Linked DNA regions of Homo sapiens: region 2 is linked to region 1. Evidence: promoter capture Hi-C in 16 types of primary human blood cells and fetal thymus (Javierre and others, 2016). All regions are on one chromosome and are shown on one strand. The core of a region is centred on a gene start or on the middle of the fragment in contact, and the rest is flanking DNA. Distances in the headings are between cores, read along the strand shown. Region 1 holds the start of GPR149 (G protein-coupled receptor 149). Region 2 overlaps PLCH1 (phospholipase C eta 1).

Region 1 (2,997 bases), core at 205-2,704:
CCCGGTTCTCACGCCTGCAGGCTTCAGCCCCAGCGGCAGCGGGCGCACCCGGTCCGAACACGGTGTCGGAGCTCGGAGAGCATCCCCCAGAGCGCCGCAGACTCGGGCCTGGAGCATCCTCTGGGGACAGGGAAACCACTCTCCCCGCAGTAGGAGGGGTCCCAGGAATTGAAGCTCCACGGGAAATTTCCTGGTAGTTGGAGTGGAGTCTCGGCGGCTCCTCCGAACACAGCAATCGGTGAGTGAGTGGGACTGAGAGGCCCACGAGGAGTCCGAAGGCCAAAGCGTACACGATAGAGAGGAATAGTACGTAGGAGCTGGAGCAGTCCACCAGGCAGCCCCAGGGCGTGCGCACGAAGGCGCCCCAGCCGCACAGCGGGAGCGCCGAGAGCAGCAGACTGGCTGCCCACACGGTCAGCACCACGCCGAGCACCTGGCCCGATCTTCTGGAGGCTGTCTGGCTCCCCACACCTCTGTGCATCGTATAAAAGTTGTAAGAGACTAGGAGAGTCGCCTTCAAGTTGCTAGAGAGGCCCTGGCATAAATACATTAAGGCAGAGGTGGTGCACAGAAATTGGAAGTAACCGGGGACCTCGTTTGGCCACTGCAAAAACATGAAGATGGTCACCGACAGGACGCTCATGAGATCATCCACAGACCAGGAAGCCACAAGCATGGACACAACAGTTCTGTTCTGCATTTTCAGCAGGGAAATTAGTGAATAAATGCTGCCCACCAAGGCTGCAAAAGTCATGAGACATGTCAAGCAAAAAAGATAGATATTCAGGGTTCCTGGCGGATTTAAAAGGTCCGTAGAATTATGATTCTCTTTCCACAGGCTAGAGTCATTTGTTGATAAGTTACTGAGAAATAAAGACATTGTCCTTGGTCAATATTTAATTTCCCTTATCAATGAGTCTGATAATTTTCTCAAAAGAAAGACCGGCTGCTGCAAATCAGATTTCATTCCTCCTACCAAGTTCCCCTCTAGATGTTCTCCTTGTCAGTCCTGCAGAAAATGGTCAGCCATGTCTCCTTTAGATCTGACTCAAGCTATATTTAAAAATTAGGTTCCATTTCAAGCATAAAAAAAAAAAAACCCGAACAGATAACTTTTCAACATTCCAATTAAAAACAAAGCAAAAACTCCTTCCCACCATCAAGTTTCAGGGAAGAAAGCCAAAAAAATAAACAAAACAAAACTCTTCAGGTACATTAAAAACCAATGATGTCTGGATCCTTTGGGGTCCTTCTTATGGAGCAAAGCAGCTTGTAGCTTGAGATAATCAAACTCTGTTCACTTTTAAGAGCAGTAAAATGATGCATTTGGTTCCAGAGCTGGATTCAAAGGCAGGAGATTGTCAGGTAGGTTTCAGCTTTGAAGGTGGAGAGAGAGAGAGAGACAGAGAGAGAGAGAGAGAGGGCGAGCGCGAGCCAGTCAGAGGGAGCTTGTGCACAGAATCCCATCTGAACCGCTGTGTTCTTCAATCAGCCTGTGATCCTCGGAGCTGCAGGAAGGAGGAGTCAGCTCCAAGCAGGAGAGAAGCAGGAAAAAAAGGGAGGGGAGTTCAGTGTGTGAACAAAATGATATACGTATATCTTAGACTGACTCTTTCAAAGCAAGAAACGGTGTACTTGCTAAGCTTCCCCTTTGGTTTCAACATGTAAAATTAGTCCAAATACTTGCTCAGGCTTGATGTGAACTACAAATATAACCTGTGAGAGGTCTAAGCTACTCCAGTAACTAAGGGACTGCTTTTATTCTTACCTAGACTTTCTGCTTCATAATCCATTGGAGGAAGAATATCATCAATCCCATGCATAAGAGTCAGATGTATCAGATTTCTTTTAAAAAAATAGTGTACTTAAGATTGTCGTTATAGTCCTCATTACTCTAAACGGGATTATACAGAATCTTTGGATAGAGTCACACTAGCTTTAGACATTTATTTATAACTATTTTCTGTCAATGGTATCAAGTAAGCAGGCTGTCATTCGAATAAATTATATGTCTAAGTATCCATAAAGTCGGAAGATATTACATAGGGCCTAAAAGGAAGATCACCCTACATTTTTAACCAGAGTATTTGGGACATACAATAGTTGTATCTCTTAATGGTCAATTTTGCAAGATGCGTGATTTAGCAAAGAAGTATCTAACAGAAGTACTTCTGGTCCAGCATTTCCCAGGATGCTTTAGGGCAGCATTCTTCTCAGCTTAGCCTCATGACCAGATGGCTGCATTCTCCCACATAGTGCTGGAGGTTTAAATGGAAACAGGGGAAGGGAAAGGAAATAGTTGATATTGATAATGATTTAATAACTGGAAGTAGTAATAGAACTGCGATCATTCTTTTCATTTTAGAAATAACTGAAGTATCATTTTGAACCCGAATCTGTTCAAGTAGAAAATGGTTGCATTAGTCATTACCAGCCACACCCTTCAATAAACACAGCAGGTATTTCACTTATCTTGATATGTTGATTGTTTGATTTTCCCCCTTACTCAGCAAATGGAAACAAAAAACACATGTAACAGCTAGCTCAGCACTCTAGCTCTCCCTACTGATAGTATAGACTGTGTAGGGCTGTGTGAGTAGGAAAGGTTGAGGGTATATTCATTTTAAAATAATGTTGATTCAGAAAGTATGATGAAAAACAAATCTTATTTTTGAAGACTTCAAAGTTCCATGACATGCCATTCTGTCTCTTCTCACAAACCTTATTCTTCCTTGCCATAGCAAAAATATTATTCTTCAATATCGTATTGAATCCTGCATTTTCAGTTAGGTTGGACAATAAGTCTCAGATTGTTAATATACAATGAATAGAAATTAATAATAGCTACTGTAGTACCATTTCAGGTCTGAGAACATTTCCCCTATTATTATCATCATTTCTGGGTTTTCCATTAAATATAAATTTGGAAAAGGGATACTTAATCACCATGTTGTACTGTTCTTTGGGCTATTACAGAAGAAACAAGAATGTTTAGCA
Region 2 (2,997 bases), core at 298-2,797, 1.2 Mb after region 1:
ACAGTCATTCACTAGAGATAGATCACCCTATCCAACTTCTCTAATTTTTGTGTAAATTATATACTTTTAGAACAGCTTAAAGCTCAGCAGCTTTTCCCCCCAAACTGATTGGACCGTAAGCCTTTGACAGCTAAAGATACAGTCTGAACATTGTAAACTATACCTGGATGCAGAAATTATATTAAAAAATAAAACTGACTAGGATAAATTAATGAGCCCTCAGTCAGAGGTCCATTTCCCTGTGGACTACTCAGTGCCAGAAGAGGCTAAACCCTTAACTTTGGCCAGCCCCTGGGCACAACATCAAGTAAAAAGGAATTCGAAAGTTCTATATGACTTTGGCCAGGCCAGCATTATTAGAAAAACATGGTAGGTCCTGTCCTAATAAAAGATGAGAAAAGTCCTAAGGATGAGCAAAATAAAATGCCATGTAGATAAGGATCCATATCTGTAGATAAGGAATCGATTCAAAGTTCATATTATTTTTTCCTCGAAGTGGGAAAATATTACCTACATTCAATTAGCACTTTTGCCCTTTTGCTATGGAAAATGCGTTTTGTGAGTAGTCCCTTATCATTTTTATTTCCTCAGACAGCAAATTAATTCTTATACTTCTCTACAGAGGACAGGACAAACTTGTAGTTAATATTGAAGATTAGGAAATGACCTTAGCCACAATTATCATACATCAATAACACTTTCCCAAAACCCAAGAAAGAACCTCTCACCTACTTTAGTATGTTTACTCAGTGGATTTAAAGTAACCTTTCAAATCACCAACTGCAAAGACAACATTCCACCTCAAAATGTATTCAAAGTGGGCTCTTGAATTGCGCTTTTATGGAATTAACCTACCATCTTCTTATGAAAAAGTCACCTGACATCCCTGGGTGCACTAGCCAGTGCACAAAGGAAGCAAGGGGTTCAACAGTTAGGAAGACAGTTTGCACACGATCTGCACATGTTTACCGTCAAATCAAAGCTTGATGATAAACATCACTCAGCTTTGGCACATCTACTGATGGCATTTGTTGGTGGATTATGCTTTCTTCCCCTTATTTATTTCACAATGGTTATCATGGCACAGCTTTCCAAATGATGTTTTTAAGTGTTCAGTTGTAAGAATGCAAGTTCAAGTATGCTTTCTTCCTCACTACAAGAGAATATGATTTCAAATATTCAACAAATTGGTTTACCTAATGGTCTCTTTGGAGGGGTCTCCCACTATTCTACTACCCACTATCACCCCAATAAATACTCTAGTGATATAACCCCTTCAACAGTTATCATCATTGAACTTTAAAAACATAACACCATATACCTTTAACCATGTACATGTTCCCCACCAGTTTCCACAAAGAGCTAAATTTAAGCCTGCTATAAGAGAGAATCGAAATTTGGTTTGCTTTCTTTTAGACTCTGCTACATAGACTTTAAACATGCAGAAGAGCTGACTTTGCCAACAAAGCTCATCCTTCTTTTTTCCAAAGCAGCCAGCTGTGACTTCATTTTGGATTTAGGCTATGATTTTTCTGATTTTTCTCTTTGCATGTGAATGTTTATTTGTGAAGTCTTGAACTTCAAGCTACTTCCAACTCTAGAAATGATTTGGGCAAGCTGCCATGTTTATAATCTTAGAGCCTCCAGCTTCCCAGATAATACAAACTCTCTTGTTATTTAATTAATGTCAAACTCATAATGTCATGCAACATTGCTGTTAGATTTCTATTTTTCTAACATGTCTATTCTCCTAGTTACTCCTAACTAGAATGAGTAAACCTTCTGAATAAATCAGAGACATCTTTACAGGCAAATGATTAAAGGGTTTGACTGCCTGCCATAATATTGGAACAAGATCTGGGGGAAAATATTAATGAATAAAGGATTATAACCCTGGACAAGCAAGCAAATGTAGCTTAAATATATAACAGTTTCCCCCAAAAAGTAAACTGGACTTTATACTATATATAATTATATTATATTCCATGCATCTCTATATTACAGCACCTTAAACAGTGTAGATAACTAGTAAATATCGGTTAAATAAATGAGTAAATGAAAAAAATTGACAAGATATACCACCTTGTTGGAAAGATAGGTTCTTGGCTGCCTTAAGCTTCCCATAAATAAACCAGGGGCCAGGGGTGGTGCTCACACCGGTAATGTCAGCACTTTGGGAGGCCAACGCGGGAAGATCACTTGAGCCCAGGAGTTCGAGACCAGCCTGGGAAAAATGGTGAAACCTTGTCTCCACAAAAAATAAAAAATACTTAGCCTGGAGTGGTGGTGCAAGCCTATGGTCCCAGCTGCAGAGGAGGCTTAGGCAGGAGGATCACTTGAGCCCAGGAGGTTAAGGCTGCAGTGGGGCACGTTCATGTAACTGCATTCCAGGCTGGGCTACAGAGCAAAACCCTGTCTCAAAAAATAAATAAATAAGCAATGTATATGGCAATCACAGTCCTCGGTACCAAAGACCAAACTCCAAGCCTATATGAAGACATCTGATGTTATAGTCATTGGAAAATGAAAAGGGAAGGAGTGGGCTAAGGGGAGCAACAAAAGGTTGACTGTGTTTTCTTCTGGCAGTCTGCTTTCACAGCCAGTACTATGCCTGTGGCCATCTCCCAGGCTCAGGAGAGCCTATCTTACTCTAGCCCATCAGATTCACTTTCCCGGGAACTGGAAATAGAACCTTGATATGGTTTGCATTTGTGTCCCTGACTAAATCTCATGTCAAATTATAATCCCTAGTGTTGGAGGAGGGGCCTGGTGGGAGGTGACTGAGTCATGGGGGTGGATATCCCCCCCTGCTGTTCTCAGGATAGTGAGTGAGTTCTCACGAGATCTGGTTGTTTAAATATGTGTGGTACCTCCAGCTTCTCTTTCTTCCTCCTGCTCCAGCCATGTAAGACATGCTTCCTTCTTCTTTGCCTTCTGTCGTGATTGTAAGCTTTCTGAGGCCTCCTCAGCCATGCTTTCTGTACAGCCTGCAGAACT

What was found. The method cuts DNA at HindIII sites, captures the fragments that hold promoters and counts their contacts. A CHiCAGO score of 5 or more calls a contact.
Region 2: a fragment that was not itself captured here is called in contact with the fragment with the promoter of GPR149 in region 1 in 1 of 17 cell types (M1 macrophages); the score reaches 5.1 in M1 macrophages.

What each region holds. Positions count from the first base shown.
Region 1 is chr3:154,428,736-154,431,732 of GRCh38, forward strand. It overlaps GPR149 (G protein-coupled receptor 149), which reads right to left and starts at 1,455. Exons shown (of 4, transcript NM_001038705.3): 1 at 1-1,455. The coding sequence starts at 880. The HindIII fragment of the contact is 3,253 bases long and covers 1-1,641 here.
Region 2 is chr3:155,637,042-155,640,038 of GRCh38, forward strand. The region is part of intron 2 of PLCH1 (phospholipase C eta 1); the gene reads right to left. Among named protein-coding and RNA genes, the nearest start is that of PLCH1, 110 kb to the right of the region's middle. The HindIII fragment of the contact is 1,134 bases long and covers 981-2,114 here.